Regions from separate parts of the Homo sapiens genome. Here region 2 is linked to region 1. Evidence: promoter capture Hi-C in human tissues and cell types (Jung and others, 2019). All regions are on one chromosome and are shown on one strand. The core of a region is centred on a gene start or on the middle of the fragment in contact, and the rest is flanking DNA. Distances in the headings are between cores, read along the strand shown.

Evidence for each region. The method cuts DNA at HindIII sites, captures the fragments that hold promoters and counts their contacts. A contact is called where the count stands out against the background at its distance.
Region 2: a fragment that was not itself captured here is called in contact with the fragment with the promoter of FOXK2 in region 1 in 2 of the 25 tissues and cell types used here (dorsolateral prefrontal cortex and lymphoblastoid cells).

Annotation. Positions count from the first base shown.
Region 1 is chr17:82,516,692-82,521,620 of GRCh38, forward strand. FOXK2 (forkhead box K2) reads left to right here and starts at 3,041. Exons shown (of 9, transcript NM_004514.4): 1 at 3,041-3,616. The coding sequence starts at 3,198. RefSeq lists silencers at 2,461-3,120, 3,571-3,750, 3,831-3,880. The HindIII fragment of the contact is 19,651 bases long and covers 1-4,929 here.
Region 2 is chr17:82,764,882-82,769,273 of GRCh38, forward strand. It overlaps TBCD (tubulin folding cofactor D), which reads left to right. Exons shown (of 39, transcript NM_005993.5): 4 at 1,386-1,487; 5 at 3,539-3,685. Among named protein-coding and RNA genes, the nearest start is that of TBCD, 15 kb to the left of the region's middle. The HindIII fragment of the contact is 4,126 bases long and covers 1-4,026 here.

The sequences.
Region 1 (4,929 bases), core at 1,791-4,290:
GGCCACCGCACTCCAGCCTGGGCAACAGGGTGAGACTGTCTCAAAAAAAAAAAAAAAAGGAAAAGAAAAAAAAATTCCTCTAATATATAAGTGAATATTTAATGAAACAATTTTTTCTGTCTAGGAAATCCTGCCAGAACACTTTGCACCTGTAGGAATTTGTACTATAATTACAAACACATATATGGCAATTAAGACATGTAAATGTAGGTCGGGCATGGTGGCTCACGCCTGTAATCCCAGCACTTTGGGAGGCCCAGGCAAGTGGATCACGAGGTCAATAGATCGAGACAATCCTGGCCAACAGGGTGAAACCTCGTCTACTAAAAATACAAAATTAGCCAGGCGTGGTGGTGAGCACCTGTAATCCCAGCTACTTGGGAGGCTGAGGCAGGAGAATCACTTGAACCTGGGAGGTGGAGGTTGCAGTGAGCCAAGATCGCACCATTGCACTCCAGCCTGGGCAACAAGGGCAAAACTCCACTCAAAAAAAAAAAAAAAAAAAAAAAAGACATGTAAATGTTACATTCAGAGGGACACATTAATTTCCATTTCTTTTAGAAAAAGTTTTTACACATTGAAGGAATAAAAATGCATGAACTGACCCTGATGTCTCCTGCCTGGGGCCCCCAGTTGGTGGTTCCTGTTCAGGATCTCCACTTTATCCTGCTCCGTTTAAGTCCAGTCTCAAGTCTTTCTACTCACACTAAACTCCTTTTGTACCTACATTATGATGATGATGATTATTTTCGAGACAGAGTCTGGCTTTGTCACCCAGGCTGGAATGCAGTGGTGCAATCTCCGCTTGCTTACTGCAATTTCCGCCTCCCGCGTTTAAGCGATTCTCCTGCCTCAGCCTCTCAAGTAGCTGGGATTATAGGCACGTGCCACCACACCCAGCTAATATTTGTATTTTTAGTAGATATGTGGATTCACCATGTTGGCCAGGCTGGTCTCCAACTTCTAACCTCAAGTGATCCACCCACCTCGGCCTCCCAAAGTGTTGGGATTCAGTCATGAGCCACCGTGCCAGGCCTCTGTACCTAAATTATATCATTTCTCTCTTCTAATTGTTCTTTGCTATTTAACAAGCAGCAAATAGAGGAACCCTGGGGTGTTTGCTATAACCTGTATATATAGGCTATAATAGGATCTTCTCCTCACACACCCTGCAGGAACCACCATGCTGAAAGAAGTGAGACAATTCAGGGGGCAGTCCCTCCCCAGCAGAGACTAAATTGGTACCATTTGTTGCTATTTCAGTTTTGCGAAGATGCGCGCTTGGAGCCCAAGCCATGGTTTCTAGGGCTGACACTGACTTCCCACGGAATTCTTCCTGTTTAAGAGGTTGTAGACTTTTCATGATCCTGAACCTTGAACGTCTCCACAACTGGTTAAGTACCCGTGAGATACATTTACAGGATTTTTTCTTTCTTTTCCCAATTTTTTTTTTTTTTTTTTTTTTTGAGACGGAGTCTCCTCTGTCACCCAGGCTGGAGGGCAGTGGCGTGATGTCTGCTCACCACAACCTCCGCCTCCCAGGTTCGAGCGATTCTACTGCCTCAGCCTCCCAAGTAGCTGGGACTGCAGGCACGCCCCACCATGCCTGGCTAATTTTTGTATTTTTAGTAGAGACGGGCTTTTACTATGTTGGGCAGGCTGGTCTTGAACTCCTGACCTTGTGATCCACCCGCCTCGGCTTCCCAAAGCACTGGGATTACAGGTGTGAGCCACCGCGCCCGGCCACAGGATTTTTTCTTTTTAATGTTAGGAGTTTCATTGATTAGTGAACATCTGGACTATTGATCATCTTGATTTAGATGGGATCTTGTAATTTTTTAAACGGTGGCGAAATTCTTTTTTTAAAAACTTAGTATCAGATTGGTTAAGATATTAACTATTCGTTCATGAGAGTTCATATATATATAGTTCATATATATATAGTTCATATATGTATATAGTTCATATATATAGTTCATATATATATAGTTCATATATATATAGTTCATATATATATATATAGTTCACATATATATAGTTCATATATATACATATGAGACGTAGTTTCACTCTTGTTGCCCAGACTGAAGTGCAGTGACGCGATCTCGGCTTACTGCAACCTCCACCTCCCAGGTTGAAGCAATTCTCCTGCCTCCGCCTCCCAGGTTTAAGCAATTCTCCTGCCTCAGCCTCCTGAGTAGCTAGGACTACAGGTGTGCACCACCACACCCGGCTATTTTTTTTTTTTTTTTTGTATTTTTAGTAGAGCTGGGATTTCACCATGTTGGCTAGGCTGGTCTCGAACTCCTGACCTCAGGTGATCCGCTCGCCTCGGCCTCCCAAAGTGCTGGGCTTACAGGCGTGAGCCACCGCGCCCGGCCTCGTGTATATTTTTAAACTGTGTGCTGACGACAGTTAAGTAAATGTGATTCAGAACTTCTGCGTATTTTGCAGGACAGTTTTGACACAATGACATGACTCGCTAGCCAGGAAAGATAACGACATCCAGTCCTGGAGCTGCTGGTTAAAAACGAACGTGTCACCGGGTCCCCTGGGTCTGAGGCCACGCGGCACGCGGCCCCTCCGCGATATTCCCGCACCTCGCGGGGAAAAGGCCGCTCGGCGGCCGGGCCTGGGCTCGCGGGCCGCCGCCTATCCGCACCCCGGCGTCCACGCCGGGTTGGGGGCCGCTGCGTGCCTGGCGCCCGCTGTGACCTTGGGCCTGGTCCCGCCCGCCGCGCCTAAGGCGCTGCCAGGCCGGGCTCAGACCCCCGAGCTCCCGCGCCCGCGCCAACCCCGCGCCAGCCCCGATCCCGCGCGGGCTGCCGACTGTCCGCCCCGGGTTTTCCGCGGCGCCCGGAGTCGGGACTGCGTCGGGCGTCGCCGCCGGACGTGCCGGCAGCTTGGTGCGACGTGTCTTGCCATTGGCCTGCTTCGGTAGCCCCACTGCCGTACGCCGCCCCCATTGGCCGGCGTAACCGTCCGTCAGCGAGGGGCGGGCCCGGCGTGCCGGCTCGGTGGCGCGGCCGCGCGTGCTCCCGCCCCTCGCCGCCGCTCGCTCGCTCGCCGGCCGGCGGCCTCCGCTCGGCCCCCTCCCTCAGCTCCGGTGCGCGGCGGCCGACGACCCGCGCGGCCTGGGCCTCGGCCCGCGCCACCGGCGCCCGCGCGGAGCGGCCCGGGGGCCCTCACGCAGGCCCATGGCGGCGGCCGCGGCGGCGCTCTCGGGCGCGGGCACGCCACCCGCGGGCGGCGGGGCCGGGGGCGGCGGGGCCGGGGGCGGCGGGTCCCCGCCGGGCGGCTGGGCCGTGGCGCGCCTGGAGGGCCGCGAGTTCGAGTATCTGATGAAGAAGCGCTCGGTGACCATCGGCCGCAACTCGTCGCAGGGCTCGGTGGACGTGAGCATGGGCCACTCGAGCTTCATCTCCCGGCGCCACCTCGAGATCTTCACGCCCCCGGGCGGCGGCGGCCATGGCGGGGCCGCTCCGGAGCTGCCGCCCGCGCAGCCCAGGCCCGACGCCGGCGGCGACTTCTACCTGCGCTGCTTGGGCAAGAACGGGGTATTCGTGGACGGCGTGTTCCAGAGGCGCGGGGCGCCGCCGCTGCAGCTGCCGCGCGTGTGAGTGGCCTCGGGGCGGGGCGGGCGGGGTCTGCGGCCTGCAGCGCCTGGCAGGACGGGACGGGACACGCGCCCAGGCCCGGGACCACCCACGAGCGGGGGCCCGACTCTCCCACAGCCGGGACCACCAGCGGGACCCAGGCCCCGGCTGGATCCCAACCCTCGACAGCCCCTGGCCCCGACCCCCGTCCTCCCGGTCCCCTTCCTGGCAGGTGCAGCCCCCCGTCTTTCCCCCTTCCTGGAGCCGGGGCTGCGGGCGGCTGCGCGCGCGGGTCAAGGTTTCTGGGTTCTGTGCGTGCGGGGAGTTCACGTGTGCTGTTTCTATTCTGCAGCGAGGTCGCGCTGAACAGAAATGTGAAAACGGTGTGCGGTGGGAGGAACTGCCCCGAACTAAAATCTATGTCTCTTAACCGATGAAGGGTTGTCTGTTGTCTTTTGTTGTTGTTGTTGTTCAGTCGTTTTCAGTAGTGAGCTGTTTCAAGAGTGCGGTGTTTTAAGCAGGAAGGACTCCTTTTTCCCTGCCGTGTTTTCAGTAGGCCAAATTGGAAGACGCTTCAAGCATGATGGATTTTCAATCTGTGCTCTGAACCTTAAAATTTAGGGAAAACTAGATGCTTTTCGCATAACTTCTACAAAAAGACAGTTGATTAGGAATTATTACAAGGTCATGTAGAGTGTTAAGTCAGCCTGATAGGGAACTGCCTATCCTGCTACAAAACAATTTAGCTTGGTCCTGTGGTTTTATGAAGTTATCGTTTACTCTGCTTGAAACACAAACTTGCTGTCTAGGAAATGCTAATTATTCCTCAGGGGCTCACTTCTAGATCATTGCAAGTACAGCCTTTGTCCACACAAACTGGAATTTTTTTGTTTTTTGTTTTTTGAGACGGAGGCTCACTTTGTCGCTCAGGCTGGAGTGTAGTGGCGCGATCTTGGCTCACTGCAATCTCCGCCCTTTGAGTTCAAGTGGTTCTCCTGCCCCAGCCTCCCGAGTAGCTGGGATTACAGGCGCCTGCCACCGCGCCCGGCTAATTTTTTGTATTTTTAGTAGAGACGGGGTTTCACCATCTTGGCCAGGCTGGTATTGAACTCCTGACCTCGTGATCCACCCGCCTCGGCCTCCCAAAGTGCTGGGATTACAGGCGTGAGCCACCGCGCCCGGCCTACAAATTGGAATTTTTAACGCTTTCGGTTGTTGGAGATGCTGGTAAGAGCTGTTGCTTTTCTTCTTGACTTGCGTGTTGTGTGTGTGTGCATGCGCTGTTCTGTTTCTTAGCATGGAAAGGTGCACCAGCATATTCCTTAAACTTTGG
Region 2 (4,392 bases), core at 714-3,213, 250 kb after region 1:
CTTGCGGGTGTCTGTGCTCATAGTCTGCTTTTCTTACAAGCTTGCGGGTGTCTGTGCTCATAGTCTGCTTTTCTTACAAGCTTGCGGGTGTCTGTGCTCATAGTCTGCTTTTCTTACAAGCTTGCGGGTGTCTGTGCTCATAGTCTGCTTTTCTTACAAGCTTGCGGGTGTCTGCTCATAGTCTGCTTTTCTTACAAGCTTGCGGGTGTCTGCTCATAGTCTGCTTTTCTTACAAGCTTGCGGGTGTCTGTGCTCATAGTCTGCTTTTCTTACAAGCTTGCGGGTGTCTGCTCATAGTCTGCTTTTCTTACAAGCTTGCGGGTGTCTGTGCTCATAGTCTGCTTTTCTTACAAGCTTGCGGGTGTCTGTGCTCATAGTCTGCTTTTCTTACAAGCTTGCGGGTGTCTGTGCTCATAGTCTGCTTTTCTTACAAGCTTGCGGGTGTCTGTGCTCATAGTCTGCTTTTCTTACAAGCTTGCGGGTGTCTGCTCATAGTCTGCTTTTCTTACAAGCTTGCGGGTGTCTGTGCTCATAGTCTGCTTTTCTTACAAGCTTGCGGGTGTCTGTGTGCTGGCCCAGAGGCTCACTGTTGGCAGTTTTGACTATGGAAGTACTCACAGCCGTCTCAGGGTGGGGCTTGGGGTTCGTAGTGGCGAGGCGCATTTCTGTTGTCTGGCGGGAAAGTCCTTGGCCAGCGAGAGGACACTGCGGGTGAGCTGCCAAGGACACGCAGGCCTCTGTAGCTCCTCTGTTTGAGGTTAGGATTTCTCCGGAAGGCGTGGTATCACTGAGCTTCAGGGAAGTGTTAATGAATTTGGGCCCTTGCGGTTTGTAGGCACTTATTCCTCATAAATGTCAGAGGACAGTCATATAAATGAACATATTTAATGACTGATTCCGTAAATATGGTAATGAATAACACTACCAATTTAGGAAGGAAATCTTTTTTTTTGAGAGATGGGGTCTTGCTCTGTCACTCAGGCTAGAGTGCAGTGATGCAGTCAGCTCACTGCAGCCTCGAACTCTTGGTCTCAAATGATTCTCCCTCCTGCCTCATCCTCTCAGACTACAGGCATGTGCCACCATCCTGTCTAATTTTTAATTTTTTATGTTGCCCAGGCTAGTCTCCAACTCTTGGTCTCAAGCTATTCTTTTGCCTCGGCCTCCCAAAGTGCTGGGATTACGGGTGTGAGCCATCGCTCTTGGCCATGGGTAGCTTTCTTGGGGTGACTACGGTCTTACTAAATTGTGTCACTGTAATGTCACAGAATTCTCTTTGATCAGTGGGTCGCGTAGCTGGTGATTTTTGATGAAAGGGTAGAAAGGCAATTTTGCTGCTCTCTGTATTTTTAAATGTTATAATTCAGCATCTCTTTATTTGATAGGTTCGAGGCTATAAAACATTTCTTCGTTTATTTCCTCATGAAGTTGCCGATGTAGAGCCTGTTTTAGATTTGGTCACAATTCAGAATCCCAAGGACCATGAAGTGAGTGTCTCTGCCTCCCCCCTCGTCTCCAGCCCTCCGTGCCTGTCCTTCCTCCCTGCTTGCCCCACCCTGCTGCACCTTCCCCTTCCTGTTTCTTTCATTTTATCTCCCTTTGTTTTGTGTCACTCCTCTTTTCTTTCTTTTCTTTTCACTTTTCCTTTACTTCTTGTACAAGTTGCTTTAAATTATTTTCGTTTAAAATAGCCCCTTTATAAAAAAAATTATGCCTAGGTGTAGTTTAACAATAAATCCGTCATTGTTTCTATGTTTTTTTAACTGTGTAAGTATAACTGTGTTGGGTTCCCAAGACCACCCCCAGGTTTGATACTTCCTGAGCGGGACTCACAGCACTCAGCATAGAGTCCTCCTTTTGGCTGTCACTTGTTATGGCAAAATAATACACAGCAAAATCAGCAAAGGGAAAAGGCACATGGGTGGGGTCTGGGGAGAACCAGGCGGGAGCTCCCGGGGTCCTCCAGTTGGGTCCCACAGGGCCTGTGTCATTCCCCCAGCAGTGAGATGTGACCACACCTGTGAGGTGTCTATCAGAGAAGCACGTTTGAGACTTGGTGCCCAGAGCTTTCACTGGGGTCTGGCCACATGGACACCTCTGCCTGGCACGAAACGAAATTCCAGACCCCCAGCAGGAAAGCAGGTGCCAGCGTAAAGCACACGGTTTGTGCAGATTGAGCCAGCGAGGGACCTCATCAGGCAGGGCTTGGTGGGAACCCTGCTGGTGTCCAGGTCCCTGGATACCAGCCCAGGGCCGGCCTCGTCAGGGGCCTTGCCTCAGACGGCAGCGGGGCCTGCTATGCTCGCTGTCTTCTGCGTGGTATGTATTTGGAGGAGCACACGGTTTATAACCGTGCAGTGCGGTGGCTTGTCTCGGCGTGGATGTGACTGATGAGCGCTGTGGGGCATTTCCCTGCTGCCCTGCACTCCGTGCCCTTCTTTCCCTAGTACTTCTAGCGCCCCCCAGTGGAATGATTGCAGGGACAAATTGGGATGTTTTTTACTAATTACTGAAAATAAGGGTACTCCTTTTTTATTAGAAGTTGATAATTGTTTTCTTTATTCTTTTTTTTTTAAAAAGACAGAGTTTCACTCTTCTTGCCCAGGTTGGAGAGCAATGGCACAATCTTGGCTCACTGCAACCTCTGTCTCCCAGGTTCAAGCGATTCTCCTGTGTCAGCCTCCTGAGTAGCTGGGATTACAGGCATGTGTCATCACGCCAGGGTAATTTTGTATTTTTAGTAGAAACAGGGTTTCTCCATGTTGGTCAGGCTGGTTTAGGACTCTTGACCTCGGCCAGGCACGGTGGCTCGTGCCTGTAATCCCAGCAGTTTGGGAGGCCAAGGTGGGCGGATCACGAGGTCAGGAGATCGAGACCATCCTGGCTAACACGGTGCAACCCTGTGTCTACAAAAAATACAAAAATTAGCCTAGCATGGTGGCAAACGCCTGTAGTCCCAGCTACTCAGAAGGCTGAGGCAGGAGAATGGCGTGAACCCGGAAGGTGGAGCTTGCAGTGAGCGAGGTTGCGCCACTGCACTCCAGCCTGGGCAACAGAGCGAGACTCCATCTCAAAAAAAAAAAAAGGAACTCCTGACCTCAGGTGATCCGCTCGTCTCGGCCTCCCAAAGTGTTGGGATTACAGGTGTGAACCACCACACCTGGCCTTTTTTCTTTATTCTTAGGTGTTTTTACTTTTTATCTGTTTTTCACTTTTTCAAAAGGCCAGTTTGTATGTGGAGAGGTGCCAGCGAAGAGAAGCTGCTATACTGATGTATTATGATTTTTCTTTGTTCATTTTGATGTCTCTCTTGTCTGCTGAGCTAAGTTACGGCGGTAGGTGTGTGTGGTGGGGATTCCGGGGGGGATGTGGCGAGGAGTTGGTGAACGGCTTGCATTTCTGGCCCTGAGGGTGATGGCATTTGAATGGCTTTCATAGGCATTGGGTGGGCATGGAGGGCAGTGACTTTGAGTAGATTGTGGCCAGTGGCCTGTGATTTTCAAGCAAGACTCATTCTTCCCGTGGTTTAATTTTTTAGGCTTGGGAAACCCGCTACATGCTTTTGCTCTGGCTCTCCGTGACCTGCCTGATCCCTTTTGATTTTTCTCGCCTTGACGGGAACCTCCTCACCCAGCCTGGGCAAGCACGAATGTCCATAATGGACCGTATTCTCCAAATAGCAGAGGTAAATATCATGCAGATAATTAGCTGCTAATTAGTACTCACTTTCATGTTCATGCTGTCTTGATGTTAGTGGTTTACTCGGTAAGCTTCTGATATGTATTCAACTGCTGTTTTTTTCAGTGGGGTAAAATCCCATAGGATAACTTATTTTGAAATTGTGATAATTCATGTAGGGGTCAGGTTGAGTTAGCAAATCTCATTTCTTTGTAGATGATGCAAATACTCTGTTGAGGGTAATCATGGCAGATAAGGAAGGGTTTAGTGGCATGGTGAGAGAGAATAAGGACCCATTTTACATTTAGTTCTTAACGTTATATAAATAATAGATGCTCATTTGTAGGAGAACTAGAAAATAAAGATAAGCAAGAAAAATACTAAATTTAAATTTATGAAATTCTAGTGCCAAGAGATAAGTTGTTTATTTTCTCCGAACTTTTCCTGATGTAAATATTATGCATATAAACACAGCTTATTGTATTAGTTATCTATTGGATCATAACTAATTACCCCAAACTTGAGTGTTTGACACACATTTATCCTCTTGTAGTTTCTGTGGGTCGGGAGTCTGGCATGGCTGAGCTGGGTCCTTTGTGTCAAGCTTGCCCACAGCTGCAGTTAAAACTCGACATGGGCAGGCTTTGCCCCAAGGCCGTTGGATTGAGGCCACCCTCAGTTCTTTGCCACCTGGGCCCCTCCAACTTAGTGACT